Regions from separate parts of the Homo sapiens genome. Here regions 1, 3 and 4 are each linked to region 2. Evidence: promoter capture Hi-C in 16 types of primary human blood cells and fetal thymus (Javierre and others, 2016). All regions are on one chromosome and are shown on one strand. The core of a region is centred on a gene start or on the middle of the fragment in contact, and the rest is flanking DNA. Distances in the headings are between cores, read along the strand shown. Region 1 overlaps SLC9A7 (solute carrier family 9 member A7). Region 2 holds the start of RP2 (RP2 activator of ARL3 GTPase). Region 3 overlaps JADE3 (jade family PHD finger 3). Region 4 overlaps JADE3 (jade family PHD finger 3).

The links. The method cuts DNA at HindIII sites, captures the fragments that hold promoters and counts their contacts. A CHiCAGO score of 5 or more calls a contact.
Region 1: a contact is called between a fragment that was not itself captured here and the fragment with the promoter of RP2 in region 2, in 1 of 17 cell types (monocytes). The highest score is 5.2, in monocytes.
Region 3: a fragment that was not itself captured here is called in contact with the fragment with the promoter of RP2 in region 2 in 1 of 17 cell types (total B cells); the score reaches 5.4 in total B cells.
Region 4: a contact is called between a fragment that was not itself captured here and the fragment with the promoter of RP2 in region 2, in 1 of 17 cell types (naive B cells). The highest score is 6.0, in naive B cells.

What each region holds. Positions count from the first base shown.
Region 1 is chrX:46,627,524-46,633,989 of GRCh38, reverse strand. It overlaps SLC9A7 (solute carrier family 9 member A7), which reads left to right. Exons shown (of 17, transcript NM_001257291.2): 14 at 2,341-2,404. Among named protein-coding and RNA genes, the nearest start is that of CHST7, 57 kb to the right of the region's middle. The HindIII fragment of the contact is 601 bases long and covers 3,947-4,547 here.
Region 2 is chrX:46,834,496-46,840,309 of GRCh38, reverse strand. RP2 (RP2 activator of ARL3 GTPase) reads right to left here and starts at 3,267. Exons shown (of 5, transcript NM_006915.3): 1 at 3,108-3,267. The coding sequence starts at 3,209. RefSeq lists an enhancer at 3,136-3,275 and a silencer at 3,586-3,665. The HindIII fragment of the contact is 11,862 bases long and covers 2,037-5,814 here.
Region 3 is chrX:47,029,778-47,035,671 of GRCh38, reverse strand. It overlaps JADE3 (jade family PHD finger 3), which reads right to left. Exons shown (of 11, transcript NM_014735.5): 7 at 1,884-2,051. Among named protein-coding and RNA genes, the nearest start is that of RGN, 46 kb to the left of the region's middle. The HindIII fragment of the contact is 192 bases long and covers 2,178-2,369 here.
Region 4 is chrX:46,977,903-46,984,312 of GRCh38, reverse strand. The region is part of intron 1 of JADE3 (jade family PHD finger 3); the gene reads right to left. Among named protein-coding and RNA genes, the nearest start is that of JADE3, 69 kb to the right of the region's middle. The HindIII fragment of the contact is 1,439 bases long and covers 1,609-3,047 here.

The sequences.
Region 1 (6,466 bases), core at 2,998-5,497, 210 kb after region 2:
ATTAAAATCCTGTACCTGGGCCGGGCATGGTGGCTCACGCCTGTAATCCCAGCACTTTGGGAGGCCGAGGTGGGCAGATCACCTGAAGTCAGGAGTTCGAGACCAGCCTGGCCAACATGGTGAAACACCGTCTCTACTAAAAATACAAAAATTAGCCAGGCATGGTGGTACCTGCCTGTAGTCCCAGCTGCTCGGGAGGCTGAGTCAGGGGAATCACTTGAACCCGGGAGATGGAGGTTGCAGTGAGCTAAGATCACACCAGTGCACTCCATCCTGGGTGACAGAGTGAGACTCCGTCTCAAAAAAATTCACCAAAAAAAAAAAAAAAAAAATCCTGTGCCTGTTCTTTCTTGCTGCCCAGTTCCACACCAAAACACCCTGGCCCATTGCTTTACCTCCTCTTCCCAGAGATCAGTTTGGTTCTGGGCTCTGCCCCAAGGGTGGGGCTCTTTGTAGGAAGCCACAAGGTCCCGTGTCATCCTTGGGGATTGGTCCAAGAGGCCCTCAACCCTGCCAGAAAAGTAATTACTAAATCGCCCTAAAGTAAACAACCTTGAATAGGGGAAAAAAAGTGCAAAACATTATTTGTGTCTCACGGCCCCGATCTGTTTTTTTTTTTTTTTTTTTTTTTTTTTTTTTTTTTTTTTTTTTTTAGCAGCAGCAAGCTGAGAAGCAGCTCTTTGTTTCCTTTCTTAGAAATCTCCTGTTCTGCACTTATATCAGTAGCAAGGCCCTCCAAGAGACCCCAAGGGCCTTCCCACACTCCTCTGTCTGTGGCAGGGCCCAGGAGGTTCTTTTAGACTCTCTGCTGTCAGGAGTTTGGGCTGCATTTCATACTTGGTTGATATCAAGTGGCTGCCGTGAAGGTCGGAACTTCCATGGCAGATATAGGATTTTCCTGGCATCTTTTTTCTTTCCCCCATTGCCCAGTGTTATCCATGTCATCCATGGCACAGTATCCTGCCTCAGAATGAGGAAGGTGCAAGGATAAAAAAAAAAATTGCCAGATGCATAGAGTGCCAGTTAGTATGTTTCTAAGCCAAGACAACTGCCCTGGTGCTTTTATAGTATTTGTTATAAATGAGTCCTGCCATTTTGCTTTTTCTTTCTGTCTTTAGTTGTTGCTCTCAAATGTGTGAGTTCTCAAGGCTATCTTGATGCAAGAGGGTATAGGGGCACCAGGATTGAAAGCAGGTCAGGACTCTAATTAATGATATTGTTAAAGAAAACATTATTCTGATGTATATTTAAACAGTAAGGCAGACGTTGTTCAGGACCATCACGATTGGAATAGGGACCACTGTGATGGGGTTTTGCAGCAGGGGAGAGAAACGGGTCAGTGGATAGGGAAGTACTGAGAGGAAATATCAGGGGCAAGGGGGATTCTGGCTAAACTGACCCAATAGGATTCTTGCTGAAGACAGGCGAAGGGGATTAGACACCACCTGAGGGATTGTGGGGGGATGAAGAATCCAATCAGATGTTGGGGATAGGCCATTCAGATGTTGGGCTGTGGCCAAACCAACTTAGACAATCAGACATCACCTGAGGGATTGTGGGGGGATGAAGAACCCAATCAGATGTTCGGTTCTGGCCAAACCAACTTAGCAAACCTCTTGCTAAAATTGGGCTATGCTGAGATGGACATGGAAGCCCAAAAGTCAGTGCCTAGTTGGGAAGTGAATTCCTAGGAGCCTGACTAAAGTTTGGTCAAGGAGAGACTCTTTGTCAATATGCACGTGAAGTATTTAGGGGAAGTATTCTGATGTCTGCAACTTTATCTGAATGTATCCAAAGAAAAAGTAAGATGGGTGATAGAGAAATGGATAGATAGGTAATAAGGAATATACAGTAAAATGTTAATGGTAGAGTCTAGTGATGGTGGGTATATAGGGGTTCACTCTAAAGTCTTTCAACATCTCCCTGTATATTTGAAAAAGTTTATAACAGAATGTTAGAGAAATTAAAGCAGGCCAGGGCAGAAGTGAGGAAGCAGCACAAAGGAAGGGCCCAGTGCAGTGAGACCCCCATTTTGATAACTGGGACCACCTGGTGCAGAAAAGCAAGTGGACAGTTGCCAGCATGTGTTGTGTTCCGGCGGCCTTGCTTAGAGTGTGAGCACATGGGATTCATCGCCCCTCTGACCCTCTGGGATCTGAAGTGGTATGCGACCTCTTTCTTATGACTTCTGCATGACAGCTTTCCTCACCTTTTAGCTAACCACTCCTTATGCTTCGGGAAGATGATTAGCCTCCAGGCTACTTGCAGCCTGCATGGCTACCATGGGCCAAGCTAATACGCTCTGTTTTTCTCTTTGTCTTTCTCCCTGGTGACTTTCAGAGTTGGTGTTGACCCCGATCAAGACCCACCACCCAACAACGACAGCTTTCAAGTCTTACAAGGGGTAAGTCACAAGAGATGCTTCTTCCTGGGGAAGACATTTGAGCATTCGCCACATGCCAGGCACTTTACCTAGATTCCCTCAATGTGATCCTGACAACAGCCTTATGAAGCGTGTACTGCTCTCCCCATTTTACAGATTAAAAGTTGAAGTTTGGGAGTTTGAGTCATCTCAGAATAAGTGATGGAGCCAGGATTTGTCCCCAGGGTATGTGTTCTTAATCAACATTATGAAGGGTGTGGGCTCGCCAGAAAGAGTCCCTGACTCTCCACTTTTCAATAGTGGATATTGGTTCTACAACTGGTTCCGAGTCTATCAGTGGTGCCCAGGAGAAAGAGAGCAATACGATTTGACTCTCCAGCCCAGGGATCTGAGGAAGAAAGGAGAGACATCAGGTGCCTGAAGGCATTCCTGTTTCTCCAGGGCCTGGGATCCTCTAGGTGAGCAATTTGGAAAGGGCATAGCAGGGACGGCTTGCCTTTTCTCCATGAAGTCCACGGCCCCAGGTGGGAAAACCAGGAGCCTGGGGCTGGAATCATGCAAAGGTTCATTTACTCATATGTCTGGCACCTGGGCTGGAAGGACCCAACCACAAGGACTTCTGACAGGAATGTCTGTGCAGGGCTTTTCCATGTGGCCTGAGCTGCCTGCCAGCATGGTGGCTGCTGGGTAGTTGGATTTCTTATGTGATGGCTTAAGGTTCCAAAAGCAAGTGTCCCAGCAAGCAAGGTAGAGGCTATATCACCTTTTCTGACCTAATCTTGCAAGTTCTACAGCATCACTTCCGTGGCTTTCTATTGCTTAGAAATGCATTCCTAAGACCAGCCCAGACCCAATGGGAGGGGATAGAGACCATAACCTCTGGATGGGAAGAGTATCAACAAATTTACAGACAAGAATTGAGGTTGCCATATCATCCCTGTTGTGCAGCTGTCGGGATGATTTTGTCTCTAGGTCTGGCTCTTTATCCAGGTCAGCATGACCTGGGCAGGCAAGGTGGGGAAAGGAGAGTTATGATAGGGGCAGAAATGTGTTACCAATATATTATTTGACCTTGGGAGTCAATAACTATGTCGTTCAGCATTGAATGCCCAGTGCTGAGCACAGTGGCTGGCACATGCAGGAACCTGATAGGTGTTTGTTGGGTGGATGAGGGAATGAGAGAGATGCAGCATGCAACAGGCAGCTTTACTGACCACCTGTGTATGTTGTCCATGAAACCCTATTCTTTTTTTTCCAGTCAGCTTTGAATCTGACTCATCATTGCACTTAATCCTGCAGCAGTCTGCAGCAGACTTCACATTCCATAGGATCTTCTAAATGATTCCATCTACCAAATCAGATTTAATAAGGCTGGCAAAATGTGGTGCTGTGTGGGGTCAATGGGGTGCCACTGTGGCCTTTTGTGGTTTCTTTCTCTTTAAGGGTGGCCACAGCCTGATAAGGCATTTATAGCATTGATGTCCATTCTAGGTCCCTGCTCAAGGGACACAAAGCCATGACCTGGAAAGTTCTGGACATTTTGGGAAGAGTTTTCAATAAGCTTCATTGGAGATTTGGCACCCACTTTAATGAGCTCCAGAAGACCTTTGAGATGATCTTAGAATTGGCCATTATGTCAGTTGGGAGCATGTGGTCTCAGTGAGTTCTCTTTGAAAATTTGCTATTTGACTCTAGCTTTGATTAAGGACTTTAGAAAACAGGAGTTCAGGAACTGAGCACCTCGAGGCTAATTTAGAGTATAACAGTTTGGGAGATCTTGAAACTCAGCCTGAGAAAACCCCAGGGGAAAACATGATGGCCGTCCTTATTTCACCAAAGGAAAGATAATGGCTCTGGTAGGACATGGCTGCCCTATTCTAAAGCATCCTCCACAGAACTGTGGCCAGTCTAGATTAATTTTGTAAGAAAAAAAGGCCAATAGCAGCTGGATCATAAGATTTGGAGAGATTTCATCTTGCTCTGGACCATTCAAAACATCCCCACCCCCTTTGCTGTTTCCCATTGCTCCTACCTCTGCATTCAAGCATCTGTAACAGGAAATAAGTGAAAGGATTTGGCTGGTCATGTAGTAGAACTTACTATGTATCACATGAGCCCTGCGCACTGGGAACACTGGGCTTGTAATTAGATTCAGTAACAAGCTTACTGTCACTTTTCTGTGGAAATGTTTGAGTGAGAAAGCAGCAGGTCCAAAGTGCTGAGGGTTCTTGTATTTAGTCCATGCAGTAACAGCTAAAATAGCCCCCACCCCCAGGTGGAGTGAGTCTCAGGAACCTCCCTGGATGGGCCTGGATGGATGAACTCAGTGTTCCTGTCAGCTCCCAGAGGGCCCCTTGGGCTGAGAGCACCGCACATGTGGTGTTGTGAACGGGCTGGCAGCCACTCGCGCTGCACTCCTAATGGCACCCTGTTTGCCACAGCCCTAGCCAGAAGCTGTGTCACAGCTTCCCCCTGACCTCCTTCCTTCCAGACCTCATACACAGTCATGCAGAGGGCCCCTCAAAGTCAGTTCCACTGACCTTTTGAAAGGTTTTCAAGATTGCTGTCATATGGGGAAAAACATGCAAACTTCAAGCTTGGTTCTCCAGGACACCCTCTTAGAAATGACTCACGCCCTTGTGCAGAGAGGACCTTATTTCTCCAGTTCCTCCTGGTCTGACCTCCTCATTCTAGTGAGCCACTAACAGCAGGGCTCAGTGCACTCTGTGGCCATGAGAAACAGGAAAACAGAAATAAATGGGCTTCTCATTTTTGGGTGAAACCCTGGGTTCTTGCAGTTTCCCCTGAAATAGATCCAGGTCACATGCTCAGTGTTGTCATGAAACTGAAATCAGAGGTAGGGAAAGTCCAGATGTTTGTTCTCCACCAGAGAAAAAAAAGGGCGGTTCTCTTTACCTCATTTTCTAAATAATCTTCCTAAAAACAACAAACAAAAAAGTGACATTTGATGGGAAGGCATGTCTTATAATGAGCACAATTCTCCTCACTGGTCTTGAAGCCCAAGGCTATAAACAGAGTCATGGCTAGGGAGCTACAGAATATTAGCTCATGTGGGAAAAGGAAGGGAGCTGTTGGCTAGAACTTTGCTTCATGTGGGGAAAGCATAAAAATATTGTGGGCAGACTTCAGCTTTGTGTCCCCTGGTAAGTTTGACTCATTAGAACAAAACAAGACAAAAAAAACAAAAAACAAAAAACAAAACTCAGTGCTTTGTTTCTCTGGAGGTCTTGGTGACTTTGCAACCAAAACAAAAACAACCCTAGCTGGAGGCAAGCTGCCCAGCCCTGGGGGTGGCCTCCCACCCCGATAAAGCAGGGGACTTTTCATGCCAGACCAGACAGCTGAGATTTCTGTTGGCCGTACATGCAGACACATCATTCACTTCCTTCCCTGAGTTTACAGAAGAGCACTCATTGATGAGGCCACTTTGGAGCAGCTAAGAGTGTGAATCTGAATTTATCCCAGTTTCACCATATCAACAGGACAAGGTCACAAGCCGGATATTAATGGAGTGTGGAGGAAAGGAAACCACCAATGCCTGTGTATATGCACACGTGTGTGCGTGTCTGTCTGTGTGTATGTAGTGAAAACTGTAGAAAATCAGCAGTTTATTGTTGCGTTCACATATGACTTTCTGAGCAAGTTAGAATCATTTGTTTCTGGGTCCTCCGTGTTTTTTTTTGTTTGTTTTTGTTTCTCCAGGCTGAAATCTGATACCCGTAAATCTGTCACCTAAATCTTTAACTTCAAACAGTTGCAGAGGTGCCTTTCCTCCAGTTGCTACTCTGTGACCACCGCCCCCCCCCCAACCCGCCCATTTTTTTGTGCTTCCAAGTGCCTCCCTTGGCCCCTGATTTCCCTTTCTGCTCTTCCTTTTCTGTTTTCTAAAAACTCAGAGTCAAGATCAATTTATTCATTTATTTGACAAATAGTTATTGAGCACCTGTTCTATTTCAGGCATTCTTTCAGGTTCTGGGAAAATATCTGCAACAAGGTAGATGAATCTGCATCCTGAAGGGCTTGGTGACAAGGTGATAAAGGGTGAGGGTGGAGAGTGGCAGA
Region 2 (5,814 bases), core at 2,018-4,517:
CAAGGGGTGCCCTTCAATAAAGATACTCTGGGCTGGGAGCGGTGGCTCACGCCTGTAATCCCAGCACTTTGGGAGGCTGAGGCAGGTGGATCACCTGAGGTCAGGAGTTCAGGACTAGCCTGGCCAACAAGGTGAAACCCTGTCTCTACTAAAAATATACAAAAATTAGCCAGGCGTGGTGGTGCACGCCTGTAATTCCAGCTACTCAGGAGGCTGAGGCTGGAGAATCGCTTGAACCCAGGAGGCAGAGGTTGCAGTGAGCCGAGATCGCGCCACTGCATTCCAGCCTGGGCGATGACAGAGCCAGACTCCATCTCAAAAAGAAAACATCAAAAAAAGATACTCTGATTACACAACCTAAGGAAAAATGTAAACACCCTTTTCTAAGCTGCAAGGAAATTTTTCAGGCAACCCATTTTGTTTTTACATGTAAAAGTCTTACAAGTTGAATGGTAATTGTCTGATATAACTTTAAAACTGTATATGCTATAATCCATAACCACATTCCAGAAGCCTAAACTTTTAATATAAATCATTTCTATTAATATGCATGCATCATATCTCATTTATGTTCTCTGGGCTGTATTTGCAATCTGTTCCTTTTAAGGTACAACTGAAATCTTCTAGGAGCAAGCAAGGCCATGCTCAGTAAACGTATCATTGGACTAATACAGAACATTTGCACACTAGCCCAAATTAACCTCACGGGAGGCAAGGAACTAGGAAAAAATATTTTATTTATTTATTTTTTTTTTTTGGAAACAGGGTCTCACTCTGTTGCCCAAGCTGGAGGGCAGTGGCCCGATCATGACTCATTGCAGCCTCTAAGTCCCAGGCTCAGGTGATCCTCCCACCTCAGCCTACTGAGTAGCTGGGACTACAGGTGTGCACCACCATGCCCCACTAATTTTTGTATTTTTAGTAGGAATGAGGTTTCGCCATATTGCCCAGGCTGGTCTGGAACTCCTGGGCTCAAGAGAGCCACCAGCCTTGGCCTCCCAAAGTCCTGGGATTACAGGCATGAGTCACCATGCCTGGCCCTAGAAAAAAATATTTTAAATTGTATAAAATTTAACAAGCTATCAAAATGAGGCAACTTAGAAAGAATTCCTAGTAATTCCAAAAGAAAAAAAAACTAAAAAGAAAAAGCTATGTTGGGAAATGTGGTATCTGCATTGTCTCAAAATGTAAGCTGGTAATTCTCTTCAACAGTCCAAAATATTTTAAAACTGGGGTTTTTTTCAGAATGCTCATTTGGTTAGAAATTCTCATTTTGATTGGCTGAGTTGATCAAGATTTTAACTTTTATTATACACACACTCAGAAGCATGAGCTTATTTTATATATCCAATAACATCTCTTACAACTCTACAACTACAGAACTTAGTAGTGTTCTCAAAAAAAAAGGTTCTCTGTAAGCTCAAAACAGTTTCTACAATTGAAAGTTTATTACACACTCATTTGTGGGGAAAAAGCTTAGATGTTGGTGTCCAATGTTATATTTCTCAATGCATTTACTTAGCCAATGGGCAAAAGAAGAAAAAAAATCACAGGACACACACACTTATCTAAAAGAAGGATTAACATGAGAAGTCCTAACTAACCTGAATATTATGTTAATAAACATTAACTGTAAAACAATTTATTGTGAAACGATGAGTCATAGGCAGCCAAGACTACTATAAATAAAAAAGGCATTTTATTTAGTTTAGATTTAGCCTGAGTTCAAAAGAAAAAACTAAAATAAAAATGAAATATGCAACTTTCTCTAAGGCAGACAATTCAAGCTAAAAGAACATTGTTAGAAAGCCAAAGGCTGAGGAAAACAATATCTTTTAAAAACCGCCCATCAGATAACTTTAAATGGCAGGTGCAATCTTCTTGTGAAATAGAAAGCATAGTACTTTCTTCCCCTACATTATAAAATGCTACTATCGAGTATGACTAACAGAGAATAAAGGTACCATGTGACCCAAGAAGGGTGTGTATGAGAAGTAGGGGCAGAAAGACGGGGCTGAGAAAAGCTGCAAAAAGCTTTCAATTTCCTAACTCTGACTCTTAGAGACCAGAGCTTACCTGAATACATTCTGCTGGGGATTGGAAATCATGCAGAAAGGTCTGTGATTCCAAAACGTTAATACATTTATTATAAAGTAATCTTGGGTAAAGATATGTTGCCTTAAGCAAAGAGTTAACTGTTCATAATACCCATTTGAAAAATCTCTCATTTTGTTTGGGAGAAATAATTGATAAGTCCATCAAAGTAGTTTAGTAAGCACAAATGGAGAACTATGTAGAAAGAGGAACTATTATGAAATGTATGACCGAGTGTGTTTTGTGTAAGACTAATGGAGGTTTTCAAAGGTTTTTCGTTTCTGGCTATATACAAAAATAAAAATAAGGGCGTTTTCATTCATTTAAACCAGCAGTAAAATACTGCCTGGTTTATGCCGCTTATTTTCACCTTACAGTCTTAATACACATTCCAAGACTGATGCGATATTCATTATTTCTTTCGGATAACTGGAAGAGGAGGGGGAGTAAAGCTGTACATTAAACAGTCCACTTGGTAATTGAGAAAATTCAGCAGTGAAATATATCATGAGGCACCAAAGAGATTTGCCGGGGAGGGCAGACAAAAGAGAAAACAGCCACAGAACATTAAGCCCCGGAAGAGATGAGAATCGGTCCCATATACGTAACTCGACGACTGGACAAAACCCCGCTTGACGCTGCCGGTGGGTGAAACGAGGTGATTTGAGATTCAGGGCGTTCTCGGCTCTTTCCCTCTCTCGAATCGATCATCTCCAACAGGAAGTCAGAGCAAGGCAGGGTTCGGAGTCAGAGAAAGCTCCCGGGGGAGTCTGTCTACCACGACAACAAACTCCTAAGGCTCCTTCCGGAGCTCCACAGCCCTCTGGGCGGCCTCTCTAGCGCTGTACTTCACGTCCCCGCTCCCCAAAAAAGTCGTGCACCCCGACTTCAGCTATCCGCGTTCAAGAGAGTGCGGCAGCAGTTGGGTCGGCCCCCTCAGCGGTCCCGGGCCGTAAGGGACCTGGCGGAGCGGCTCAGGGAGGCTGAGACGGCGGCTACACGACTTTCATTACCTTCTCGCGCTGATCCCAGCTGTACTGCTTTGGCCGCTCCTCCTCGTTCTCGGGCCGCGACTCCTTGTCAGCCTTCCGTCTCTTGGAGAAGAAGCAGCCCATGGTCCCAGCCCGCGGAGCTCGTTGGCCAGCTCACTAGCTCAGGCACTTCCTAGAGTGTGGCGTGAACCCTGGGAACCCCGGCCTCGCAGCTCTCCGGACAACGCCCCGCGGAACCGCCCAACGGTCCGCAGCCTTAGTTTGCCCGCCAGGCCCAGCACCCCTTCCCCTTTTTCGTCGCCCTGACGACCCAGCGCAGCCAATGAACGCTCAGCGCCTGTTGAGCCAATCAAAGCCTCTCGAGCAATCCTGCGCGGCCTATGAAGAGAGGCCGACATACCCACATACCAATCCACGCCTGGCTCCTGCGACAGCCCCTGGCGGCGGGGCGGGCCGGCTCTGGCGCAAGCACGGACAACCCCGCCCACAGCTGTGGCACGGACCGCCCTCGGCCCCGCCCCTCCTGGAACTTGGTGGGTTCTCTAGCTGGTGGGAGGCCAGGCTCGGTATCCGGGTTTTTTTTGCCCCTGATTCATAAATTTGCAAGTTCAAGGCGCGGGAGAGATCTCTAGTTGAACATTAGATTTATCTTATGATGAAAGTTGTGAGGGACAGAAATTCCCGCTGACACAAGAAGACCCTGAAATTTGTATTTCTAAATCCTCTTCTCCCCTCATCACCCTTCCTACCGCCCTCTCATCGCCTGGCCAGGGTCACCCCCTCAAGAATTGTACCCCATAACCTCCCAATCCTCTTCTGTGCTCTTTCTTTCTTTCTTTCTTTCTTTCTTTCTTTCTTTCTTTCTTTCTTTCTTTCTTTCTTTCTTTTTCTTTCACAGGGTCTCGCTATGTCACTCAGGCTGCAGTGGCACAATCATAACTCACTGCAACCTTGCAACTTTGCAACCTTGACTTCCTGGGCTCAAGCGATCCTCCTGCCTCAGCCTCCTTCCTGAGTAGCTGGAACTACAAGCAAGCACCACCATGCCCACCTATTTTTTTTTTTTTTTACTTTTGTAGAAATGGGGTCTTGCTATGTCGCCCAGGCTGGTCTTGAACTCCTGGGCCCAAGCGATCATCCTGCCTCAGCCTCTCAAGGTGCTGGGATTACAGGCAGGACCCACCGCACCCCAGGCTGCTTCTGTGTTTTCTTAAGACTTTCACATATGGCTCTAAAATTGCACAAGTACTTAGTAAAATAGTTAATTGTGTATTGTTTCCCTATTTGAACTGTGACTTTCTTGAGATCAAAAAGGTATATCTTTTTTTTTTTTTTTTTTTTTTGATGGAGTTTTTGCTCTTGTCGCCCAGGCTGGAGTGCAGCAGTGCCATCTCGGCTCACTGCAACCTCCGCCTCCCGGGTTCAAGTGATTATCCTGCCTCAGCCTCCAGAGTAGCTGGGACTGCAGGCGCCTGCCACTACGCCCGGCTAATTTTTGTATTTTTAGTAGAGACGGGGTTTCACCATGTTGGGCAGGCTGGTCTCGATCTCCTGACCTCAGGTGATCTGCCCGCCTCGGCCTCCCAAAGTGCTGGGATGACAGGCATGAGCCACCGCGCCTGGCCTAAAAGGTATGTCATAAAGGGCATGCAGGGCCGGGCGCGGTGGCTCACGGCTGTCATCCCAGCACTTTGGGAGGCCGAGGCGGTAGGATCATGAGGTCAGGAGATCGAGACCATCCTGCTCAACACAGTGAAACCCCGTCTGGTGAAACCCCGTCTCTACTAAAAATACAAAAATTAGCCGGGCGTAGTGGCGTGTGCCTGTAGTCCCAGCTACTCGGGAGGCTGAGGCAGGAGAATTGCTTGAACCCAGGAGGTGGAGGTTGCAGTGAGCCAAGATGGCGCCGCTGCACTCCAGCCTGGGCGACAGAGGGAGACTCTGTCTAAAAAAAAAAAAAAAAAAAAAAACCAGAGCCGGGGGGGGCGGGCACGGTGGCTCACGCCTGTAATCCCAGCACTTTGGGAAGCCAAGGCGGGCGGATCACAAGGTCAGGAGTTCGAGACCAGCCTGGCCAATATGGTGAAACCTCATCTCTACTAAAAATACAAAAATTAACCGGGCATGGTGGCGGGCGCCTGTAGTCCCACCTACTCGGGAGGCTGAGGCAGGAGAATAGCTTGAACCCAGAAGGCGGAGGTTGCAGTGAGCCGAGATGGCGCCACTCCACTCCAGCCTGGGCGACAGAGCAAGACTCCGTCTCAAAAAAAAAAAAAAAAAAAGGCAGTGGGGAGGAAAGCTGAGGGGAGGGATGTACCTTTGAATCTCCTACACCTGGCCCAAGTCCATACTAGGTGCTCAATACAACGTTTGTCAAATGAATGAATGCATGCATGGGTGCTAGTGAAGGAAGCATTTATAAACTTCCCCCATCCCTTCCCAAAGAAAGTGACCAAACTGTGGGGGTGGGAGGCATGTGGATTTATGGTAAAGGGGTTCTCCTCATGGAGTTTATAGCCTCGTTGAGGACATAAGCATTGCATATGAACGATCAGATCTGTTCTAAGCAAATGGCATAGGGTTCGTCAGAATATATTTAAAGATATATACACTAAATATAAACATTTGTTATACTTGGGTCGAATTTTACTGCAATACACATGCATTGCCTATGTAATAGAAAAGAAAGGTAAGTCAGTTTCTCTGAGAAACAGTATTTTGACATCTC
Region 3 (5,894 bases), core at 1,024-3,523, 200 kb before region 2:
CCACATCAGGAAACTAACAGATCTTGAGTAGTCCAGAAGGCACTGGAAACCAAGAACTAGAAATCATAAGAGAATGTCAATAACTGAGAAAGTCTATTTTGTTTTTAAAGAGCTCTTCCTGAGTCATGTTCTGGACTTTTATAAGCTGAGAGAGCCTACTCTATTAGCTGAGGGATTTGCTGTTGGAAAACAGTCATTCTCAAGCCAGAAACCTGAGTTTATTTTATGTCTAGATGTTCTTAGTGAGAAAAAGAAACTACTATTCAAATATTTTTTTAAAATACTGATGTCTATAGCCATAGGAATACAAAAGTATATATATGGGACTTTTAGTGTAACTCTGAGCTTCTTTATTAGACAATAACTCCCCTGGAACCAATATTAACAAGATTAAAAACAAGAAAATCTTAAAGGAGAATGAGTTACTGATATAATGTCAGCTCCCCATTAACTAGATTCTGCAGTCTCTCTTGTCATGCAGTTAAACTGCCTAACAAATTTGCTGGTTTGGATAGTGGCTGGGGAGAGAGGGCATGAGTGGGATATCCACACAGCTAAAGAAAAAAAAAGGCAGCCATAAGAAGAAATGTCTTCAAGCCCCATTTTAATTAAGTTAGTGTACATGTAGCCACTCAGGAAATACCAGCAACTGAAGGACCAGGCTAGATAATGATAAAAAATTGAATTTTGAGTAAAGAAGGTCTTTGGCAGGTGTTGAGTGTAAGCCCTAAAAAGAGCTTCAAAAAGTAAAGGGCATCGGCCGGGCGCAGTGGCTCACGCCTGTAATCCCAGCACTTTGGGAGGCCTAGACAGGTGGATCACGTGAGGTCAGGAGATCGAGACCATGCTGGCTAACACGGTGAAACCCCGTCTCTACTAAAAATACCAAAAAAAAAAAAAAAAAATTAGCCAGGCATGGTGGCGGGCACCTGTAGTCCCAGCTACTCGGGAGGCTGAGGCAGAAGAATGGCGTGAACCTGAGAGGTGAAGTTTGCAGTGAGCCGAGATAGCGCCACTGCACTCCAGCCTGGGTGACAGAGCGAGACTCTGTCTCAAAAATAAAATAAAATAAATAAAAATAAAAAAGTAAAGGGCATCATCACAGTAGACAAAGAGTTACTGCTCACTTTATTTGTAATAGCCTAAACCTGTAAACAACCCAAATGCCCATCAAAGGAAAATGAATAAATCAGAGTATATCCATACAATGGAATATTAGCAATAGAAAGGAATAAACTATTGATATACACCACAACATGGAGTGTTAGCCAGACCGAAAAAAATACATACTGTATGAAGTTTAAAACCAGATAAAATTAATCTATCATGATCAAGACAAAAATGGTGGTTATTCTTGGGGGATAGAGACTGGAAAGTGGGTATAGAGGATCTTTCTGGGGTGCTTTATGTCTATTTTTAGGGTATTTCATGTCTTGGTCTGAGTTGTGGTTACAGATACAAACGTGTAAAATATCACAAAACTCTACACTTAAAATTTGGCATCTAAATATAAGTTTTACCTTAAAAAATTCTGCTGCTCACACCCTGGTCTTTTGTGTCTCTCCTCTCATACAAATTTATCAATTTATACATGATATACCCAAATATCATGTATATATTTGGGTATTATCCCAAATATCGTGTATATATTCGGGTATTATCCCAAATACCACTGGGAATACCACCTATATATTAATCACCATGGGCTTACATGCAAGTGTGCATCCAATAAGGATCTGAGGTAGCTCAAGTGGAAGTACTATTACTTCAGAAACATGGGCAAGCATGAAGCATTTCCATACTGAGCCTGAGTCAGTCTGAATGCTGTGGGGAACAGGGACACCCTGGAGCAAATGGTCTCACGGGCCTGGATGAATTCTTACCTCTGGGATCCACAGGGCACAGCTGACATGAGCCCATTTAGTCCCTGTCTTGGTGGTCTTCAGGGCTCCACCTTTCTTTGGACATAACACACATTGCGGATAAATGCCCAGGACACAGGAGCGACACAGCCAGCTGCCTTCTGGGACCTTGAGGATGCCATAGCAGGCCTGGAGGTATGAGGAGGAGAGGGGAGAATGGTCAGCACCTTCTCACCAGGGTTGGTATCTGTTCTGATACACAGTCACAGAGTATCCTCTGCTTTTGGGAGAAAGGCAAATAAAGCCGAACAAGCTTATATCCAGTATCGAGTGATTTAAAAATACTCAAAAAAGCAACTTCCAGCATCTCTCCTAAGATCAGCATGTCTGTCCATGAGAACTGACTTTAAGGATGATAGAACAAGACGAGGAGATACAGCCAACCGTTAACCCAACTGTTATCTGAGTGTTGTGATTACAGCATTTTTTGGTCTGTTTTCTAAAGCTTCTTCAATGACTATGTATTATAATTAGTCAAACACTTATTGAACATTTCCTAAAAGTCATACACTGTTGTGATCAAGAAAAAAGTTTTAGAAAATAAAGAGAATGAAACTTCTGAGGAGCAAATGAACTGACGTTTATAAAAAGCCTATTAACGCCTGGTGCATAAAAAGTACTCAGTAAATCGTAGCAATTGCTTGCTTGGGTTGAAGAAACAGGGACTTGTGAATGAATCTTGAATAGAATATTACACTAATCACAATAATTCATAATGAGTTCTGGAAGGTGCTTCAAATCCTTTATGGAATGAAGTTGGACAAATAATTACTGTGAGAAACTGGAGATTAGTTTGGGAAACATTCTAGACTCCCTTTTTGCTATCCCCAATTTTGCCCATCATTTCCTCCTTACTGCTCTACTCTATTAGAGACTAACTGATTCAATATGGCAGCTTCAAAATTTCTGTCTGCCTCAGGAGATTCACCCTCAACTCAGATTCAAGTTATAACAGTTACCATAATATCGGTCCCCCCACAACCTGGTCCTTTTCCAAGCTCCTTCTTTCCGTGTCACCACCATACTTCCTATCTTCCAGATCCAAATTCCTAGACTTGTATTACTCACTTTCTTTCATCTGCTGACCTGGTACTTGCTATTCTCCCTACAGTGGCCCCAAGACTCTGACGTTCCTCTCCGTCCTCACCACTTGCTCTATCCAAGTTCTCATTATGCCATGCCTGGATTGATTAATTTCTACATTTTCTTTTTCCCCCTGCACGCCTTCAACCCTTCTTCTACTTGACTGCCAGATTCTCCTCACTAAAAGAATTCATACCATTGTACAGTGGCAAGCCCTTTAGATATTCCTTCTGCTCTTACCTGCTCCCCACTATCCAAACTAGGGGTTGGCTATTTTCCAAGGTCTGTTTTATAAAGCCAACAAGCTAAGAATGGTTTTCACATTTTTAAAGGGTTGTAAAGAGAAGAAGAAGAACATGTAACAGAGACTGTATGTGGCTATAAAGACTGAAATATTTACAGCGGATCCTTAAAGAAAAAGTTTGCCGGTTCCTTATCTAAAGCCTGTTGTTCCTTGTACTTCACTATCTGATCTCATGCCCCACTATACCCAAACACAGGGCTTCTGACTTGGACAGGCAGGCCTCCTGGTTTTCTCCATAACTGGTCATTCTTATTTTCACATCCATGTGTCTAAGCAGCTTCCCTGCTCTACATGGTCAACTGTTGTTTGCATAGTTGGACCTTTCTCACCCTTCCAGACCCGGTTCAAACTCCAGGCCCCTCCAAAAATCCTGCTCAGGTCACTGTAGCCCCTTGCGTTTGTCCCACTGCCTGACTCCCATCCTCCACTCCATGCAATTTCCCTCACCAAGTACATAGTCAGCATCATGTGTTCTTTAATTTTATTATTATTTTTTTTGAGACAGGGTCTTGCTCTGTCACCCAGGCTGGAATGCTGTGGCATGATCTTGGCTCACTGTAGCCTCAACCTCCTGGGCTCAAGCAATCGTCCTACCTTAGCCTCCCGAGTACCTAGGAGCACAGGCATGTGCCACTCTGCCCAGCTAATTTTTGTAGAGACGAGGTTTTGCAATACTGCCCAGGCTACTCTCAAAATCCTGGGCTCAAGTGATCCACACTTTGGTCTCCCAAAGTGCTGGAATTACAGGTGTGAGTCACAGCACCCGGCCAGCATCATGTATTCTTTTTCTCTACATTTGCTGTTGTGTTTCTTCTCCTCAGTGACATTTTTAGTATTTTTTTTTCTTTTAATTAACCCTGGCCTACAGAACTCAATGAGATTTTAAAGTCACTAGAGGTAGAGCTGTTATCATCAATTTACCTGGAATGCCCCCTATGCTGAGCTTGAGTAGGTGGTTGGATAAAACAAATGTATTTAGCTCAAGAACTGAAGCTGGACTCTAGGTAGGCTCCTCTCACAAGAGCAAGGCATCATTTTATAAGGTTTCTAACCTTTAAAGCTCTTTGTCTGAGGCCCAGAATGTTTGCTAGGAAATGAAAGCAAGCTTCCTCCCTAAAATAGAGTCTCTTTCAGACTGGCAGAAGAGAGGTCAGGTCAGTGACTGGCTCTTGGAATATCCTTTAGCTCCTGGCCAGTCTATAGGGCAGAACATCATTTACTGAGCCCTTTTGTGGACTTACTCACAGTCATAAGATCATAGATACATGTAAAAGGATTTAGAATGGCCCTAACTTTCACATTTTTTTTTTTTTGAGATGGAGTCTCACTCTGTCGCCCAGGCTGGAGTGCAGTGGCGCAATCTTGGCTCACTGCAATGTCCACCTCCTGGGTTCAAGCAATTCTTCTGCCTCAGCCTCCCGAGCAGCTGGGACTACAGGTGCATGCCACCACACCCAGCTCATTTTTGTATTTTTAATAGAGACGGGGTTTCACCATATTGGCCAGGCTGGTATTGAACTCCTGACCTCGTGATCCACCCGCCTCGGCCTCCCAAAGTGCTGGGATTACAGGCGTGAGCCACCATGCCCGGCCCAACTTTCACATTTTTTAAAGAAAAAATGTTAAATTCATTGTTAAAATCTAAAGGCTACTTATGTACACATCTCTTCTAAAGTACACATAAGTGTATTTTTTGTCACTGAGGAACAAACACTGAAATGTAATATGGTGTCACTAAAGAAGAAAAATCATGTTTAATAAATTCAGATGTCAACATGTCCCCATTCTGTTAGGGAGTAAACCAAATCTTCCAAGGTATTTTAAGTCACTTTTCAGCCAACAGAGGGAGCTCTAAGCCAAGTATCTCTTTAGAATCCAAGTAAATATACTCACTTTGGAAGAATCTCTTATGTGAAACTTTATAGGGTACCAATGTCCCAGCTTTAATACATACCAGTTTACATACTGCAAGGTCTGGTCAGTTATTGCCATCTCATCTCTTTCTATGTGAGAAAGGGGTATCATTTATATTCATTACCGGAATCGTTTTTAAGACTAATAAATAGCATTGGAGATAATTATGCTACATTTGAGTTTGTTAAAGAACCTGAGAATACTTACTATTTTGTCCCAACTGTAAAGGACAAACATAGGAAATATATACAGATGACCTTTATGCTATTCCTTTTAAGCCTACTACAGATCCACAATCATTTATCTGAAACCTCTAGGGTAAGAAAAATTAGGAAATTCAGAATTGCTCAGATCTTAGGAAAGTATATATATATATATAGTATATGACCTAAGCCCCCAGTGGGACCAGGGGCAATACCATATAACCAAACACATTAATAGTTCTCTAACAAAATATATGAGTATTTAAACAAAATGGATAAGGACTACAAATGGCCTCATACTGGGTGGGTTGTGGTATTGTCCTCAAATCAGTTCTGGTGTGAAACTTCAGCAAAAACATGCGTTTTTCAGAACTTTATAATTTTGGAATTGCAGAGAAAGGACTCTGGGCTTGTATTGTGAGATATAATACTTAAGTTCATAGTTAAATGGTAAAGATTTTCTGCTCT
Region 4 (6,410 bases), core at 1,079-3,578, 140 kb before region 2:
AATGTTAAACAAAGCTCCTATATTGTGAAGGGTAAATAAAAATGCTTTGGACTAAAACTTCCAACGGTTCAAGTGTACTTCCCTGAGTATGGCCAATGACAGATAAAAAAGAAGCATCACCCTTCTGGGAACACACTAGCACTGGAGTGTAAGAAAAAAGGAAGACACAGTTAAGCACTTTAAGTCACAAACGAAGTGCTGAAAATGTAAACTTGAAAAGACAGCAATATAGCCAGTGACTGACATTCTTTTATGTGCCACAACATACAACATGCTACCAGGGGCTATCATGATTCCATAATGAATAAAGGTCAGGGCTACTGCCTTCAAGCTATTTACAATCTACTGAGGAGGTAGAAATCCAAATACAAGGCCACTCTGAGCAATTAAGAATAGCAGCAACAAAATTTTACATTAAAAAGCTCACAGAGTTCCACTTCTGGCATAACAGTGTGAGCAGCTCCATGGACGACCCTCTTCCCAGCAAAATTGGTGAAAGTTATTTCAATTAAAAAAAAACCAACCATTTAAAGTCTCTGGAAATGGTTTTAAGGGCATACAGCAAATGAAGTACTTATTCGAGAAAATCTACTAAAATTCATAAAGTAAAGTCAAAGTCTGCAGTATTTGGATCTAGAACCACTTCCTCCATCTTCCCTCCCAGCAAAGATCTCATGCCAGAGTACAGTAGCCAAGAACACAGGGTTCCTTCTACCCCAGCTCCAAGCTCCTTTCTTCCTGGGAAGAACAGGATGTCGGCATCTCTTATCCCGTTCCCAGCTACTTTTGCTGAGGCTACGTTCCAGGAGAATGTGGCTGAGAGGTGGGGGCTCCCTTCTTCCACCTAGCCCCCAACTCATGGGATGGAGGCTATGCCTTGGGTGTTGTGCCACCAAGAATACCAGAGCCTTGATTGCTCTGGCGTTACCTTGTGGGGTGGGGGTTCTATACCAGAAGAGGCAAACCTGGGAGACCTGGGGCTGACACTCAGAGGGAAGCTCACCATTTATCTCCATCCACTGCGCCAGAGCTGTGGCTCAAAGATTTTTCCCAGGGAGAGAGGCAGGGCATAGAATAGGGGGCTTCAATTCTCCTGCAATGAAACTGACTTCATTTGCAACTGAGTGTACAGAAGTTCAAGCCTAGGCTGCCTAATATGCCAGAGAGAACCAGAGAAAGAGACAGCAGGGAAAGAGCCTCTTGCGGTCAGAAGAAATCTCAAACACAGATCTCAGGAACTATCTTCAAAGGAGCCCTAATTTGATTGGATCAGTTTGTGGAGCAATTTATATTCCAGGACATGATTAAAACAACAGAGCAGCTGGGAATGGTGGCAGGCGCCTGTAATCTCAGCTACTCGGGAGGCTGAGTCAGGAGAACTGCTTGAACCCGGGAGGTGGAGGTTGCAGTGAGCTGAGATCGCGCCACTGCACTCCAGCCTGGGCGACAAGAGTGAAACTCCATCTCAAAAAAACAAAAACAAAACAAGAGCAACCAGTCAACAATTAGTAGACCATAACAGCATGGTGTGGTCAAGTAAAGAGACAGCCAAGGAGAGCCTCACCAAACCCACTGTCATCCCAGGGTGACTGTGGGCATACACAAGCTTGTACCCCCGAAGAGCAACATTAGAGGCTTCATACTGCAGGGTGAGAATGGGGGTTGAGGAAATAGACTTCAATAAAATAATCCAGGCAGTTACTAAAGCAGTAAACAAGCAAATAATAATAAAGAACCCTGGTGGAGGGGTAGTACCCACAATTGTTACAATATATTATCCAAAATGCCCAGTTTCCAACAAAAACTTAAGAGATATGCAAAGAAACAGGAAAGTATGACCCATACAACCACATGTCAGATTTAACAGGCAAAACCTTCAAATTAGCCATATAAATATGTTCGAAGAACTAAAGAAAACCATGATTAAAGAAGTAAAGGAAGGTATGATGACAATATTTTACAAAACAGAGACTATCAATAAAGAAATAGGAAGTATAAAAAATAACCAAATAGAAATTCTGGTGATGAAAGCACAATTGAAATGAAAAATTCACTGAAGGGCCTCAACAGTAGATTGAACAAGCAGAAAAAAGAATTAATGAACTTGAAGTAGGTCAACAGTGATTAGGCAAGTTGAAGAACAGATGGAAAAAAGAAGAAGAAACAGCCTCAGAGAAATGTAGAACATCATTAAGTTCATCAACATATACATAATGGGAGTACCAAAAGGAAAAGTGAATGAGAAAGGAGCAGAAAAAATATTAGAAAAACTCCCCAAATTTACTGAAAAACATTAATTTACATATTCAGGAAACTCAAAGAACTCCAAGTAGGATAAATGCAAAGAGATCCAGAAAGAGATTCCTCATAGTAAAATTACTGAAAGCCAAAGACAAGGAGAAAATCTTGAAAGCAGCCCGGGAAAAAAAACAACTCATCACTTACAAGAGAACTCCAATAAAATTAACAGCTAATTTCTCAGAAACAAAATTAGAAGACAGTGTGAAAACATATTGTGTCCTTTGGTGATTGGTTGCACATATCTGTGAATATATTAAAATAACTGAATTGTATACTTTAAGTGGGTAAGCTGCATGGTATACAAATTATATCTCAAAGCTGTCATTTAAAAAACTAATAAAATTAGTACAAGAATCAGAACCATTAACTAAGGTTCTGTTTGTCCTACAGTCAAAGTCAATTGAATATTTTTAAAAAAGAGCCTCCCATCACATAAATTTTTGGGGCTACATTTGGCTCTCTGGTGCAAAATTTCATTCAAATCTCTTCTGAAACGCAAACAAAACCAACAGTAACAACAAGACACTTCCTATTAAAAAGTAGTAGTGGGGAATTTAAAGTCACAATGAATGTAGAAATTTAAGCAGAAATAAAAGTAATACATTTTCTAACTATTCCCCACTGAATGCACAGATCTACTTAGAGTAGCACTTCATTTATCTGATATCATGGGGATGTTGCATATATAAAAATTGTTCAGATACACAGTATACCCAAATGTATAAAATCCTATTTTAATAGAAGCTTTTCTAAAACACCTATTAGTTTTCTAACGTTACAGTAACAAATTATCACAAACTCAGTGGCTTAAAACTACATAAATTTACTATCTTATAGTTTAGTGGGTCAGGATTTTGACACAGGTCTCACAGAGCTAAAATCAAGATGTCATCAGGACTGCGTTCCTTTCTAGAGGCTACAGGGGAGAACTCATTTCCTTGCCTATTACAGCTTTTAGAGGACACTCTTACTCCCTTGATCTTGGCTGTCTTCTTCCATCTTCAAGGCAAACAACACTGAATCTCTCTGATCCTGTTTCTGTCATCGCATCTCATTCTCTGACCCTTCTGTTCTGCTTCCCTCTTCCACTTTTAAGAACCCATGTAATTACATTGGACCCACCCAGATAATCCAGGATAATGTCCCTATTTTATAGTCAGCTAAATAGCAATCTTAACATATTCATAGGTTGCAGAGATTAGGACACGGACATCTCTGCCTACCACAACCTAATATACAAAATGTAACTCAAAATGGATCACAGACTTAAATGAAAAATGTAAAATTATAAAATATTTACAAAAAGCATAAGAGAAAGTCTTCAGGATCTAGGGCTAAGCAAAGAGTTCTCAGACTTGATACCTAAAGCATGATTGGCAAAGAAAAATGTGTTTTCATCAAAATTAAAGACTTTTGCTCTCAGAAGCATATCCAGGGCAACTTGAATCTATGCTGCTGGGTTGTGGTCTTCAAACTTGGCCCAAATAAACTATCTACTTATATTTTTAAAAAAACTTCTGCTCTGAGAAAGCCCCTGTTAAGAAGACGCAAAAGCAAGCAGAATGGGACAGAATATTTACACATATTACACACACGTGTAATATCAAATGCTGGAGAAGATGTGAAGAAACTATCACTCATACATTGCTGGTGGGAATGTAAAAAGGAATCGCTATTCTAGAAAATATTTTGGTCATTTCTTAGAAATATTATACATGTAATATTTATTATAAAACACATATCTGACAATGAACTTATATTACAGAATGCATAAGGAACTCTAAAAATTCAACAGTAAGGAAACAAATGACCTAATTAAAAATCAAGAGATGGGCCGGGCATGGTGGCTCGCACCTGTAATCCCAGCACTTTGGGAGGCTAAGGCGGACGGATCATTTGAGGTCAGGAGTTCGAGACCAGCCTGGCCAACATGGTGAAACCCCGTCTGTACTAAAAATACAAAAATTAGCTGGGTGTGGTGGCATGCACCTGTAATCCCAGCTACTCGGGAGGCTGAGGCATGAGAATTGCTTGAACCTGGGAGGCGGAGGTTGCAGTGAGCCTAGATTGCATCACTGTACTCCAGCCTGGGTGACAGCGAGACTCTGTCTCAAAAAAAAAAAAAAAAAAAAAAAAAATCAGCAGACATTTTACCAAAGAGGAACGCAAATGGCATTTAAGCCCGTGAAAAGACATTCAGTATCACCAGCCATTAGGGAAATGCCAGTTAAAACCACAAGATATTATTACATACTTATTATTACAATAGCTGAAATAAAGAAATAGTGAAAATATCAAATCATGGAGAAAGTGTAGAGAAACTATATCACTCGTACATGGCTTGTGGGAATGTAAAATAGTATAGCTATTCTAGAAAATATTTCGGTCATTTCTTTAAAAATTAAATATGCAACTATGACTCAGCAATTGCACTCCTGGGCATTTATCCCAGAGAAATGAAAGTTTATGTTCCCACTGAATATAACCTCCATATGGATGACTCATGATGGGATCAAGGGCAACAAATGTCATAGAAAAAACAGTTTTATTCTCTAAAAATCTCAGTGAAGAAAGCCAACTGACCATGGACCCTCTCTCCTCACCTCCCTGAGAGTTTCAGAAGACCTAAGACTTCTTGTGAGATGGATACTCCTCTCATCTGAAGTTCTGGGTATGTGTACTTTGGATAAAACAGTTTCTCCATTTTCTATAATATTCTGTTCTTTAAGTAAAAGAGTTATCAAACTGTTCTTGACAGAGGGAGATTTTAAAGAATAGGCAAAATTTGGCATTTTTAAAACAATTACAGTAACAACTATTTTTTATTATAGATGGAAACAAAAAATCTTGTATTATCAGTAAAAAGCCTAGGAAACAGATTATCTAATACGAGTTACACCAGTCCTGGGAAATAAGAAAATGAGTCATCAATGACTTTTAGAAAAGAAAACAAAGCAAGTTAATTTTTGGGTATGGGCTGTTTAAAGTCCAGTGATTTGTCTGTCCATTTCTGTGACATACTGCTGTTTTAATTATTGTAGGAAAATGACAGAAAACAATAAATATCAGCAGAATAATTCAATGATGGTAAATCTTTATATCTCTATTTATTATTTCTAAGCACAACAACAGTCCTACACATAGCAGCAGCAGCCATTTTACAGATGAGGAAATTGGGGCTCAGAAGCATTAAAGCGACATGCTTAGAGCAACATGGCCACCAGGGGGCAGTCAGGTACATTGACAATGAGCACTCCAAGTTGATCCAGAAGCCAGAGGACAGGCTGGAGGGATGACAGCAAGAATGGTGCCCCTTCTAAGCCCAATCTCCTCAGCATGGCTTGCGAGGCCCAGTTCTGGCTCCCAGTCTCTCAGGCCTCATCAACTGCTGTTCCCCCCAATCCACTCCAATTGTTTGGCATATACTATGCCCCATGTGATTCCGGGAACACGTTCGTCTTGTTTCATACTTGCTTGCCAGCCTTTGCACAGGGCTCTTCCTTCTACCTACAATTCCTCCCCATGTTTTCCTTGACCAGCCCATTTTCCCCAACCCTGGTTCTATTCATTCATTGGATGTCCTCGATGAAGCTTCCCAGACGTCCCTCCCCCACAATTATTCACTCCTTTGCTTTCCATCCAAGTACATGCAAAGAAGCACCTCACTTGCACCATCAATATTCTTTACATCAAGCTTGTCCAACCCGCAGCCTGCATGTGGCACAGGACGGCTGTGAATGCCACCAAACACACATTCATAAACTTTCTTTAAACACTGAGATTTTTTTTGTGATTCTTTAAAGCTCATCAGCTATCGTTAGGTGTTAGTGCATTTTATGTGTGACCCAAGAGAATTCTTCCAATGTGGCCTAGGGCAGCCAAAAGATTGGACACTGCTGCTTTACATGGTCAGCCCTGTTGTCACTAGACCACAAGCATCTTGAAAGCAGGGACTGTGTCACATTCATTTTTTACCCCTAGCTCTTAGCACAGTATCCTGCACAAAATAAACAGGCAAAGGAATAACACACTGTGCTGCCCCCACCCAATCCTGTTTACCTAGCTAGCATACTGTACCCATTTTCCAGCTACTTCTTGTTGGCTGCTAA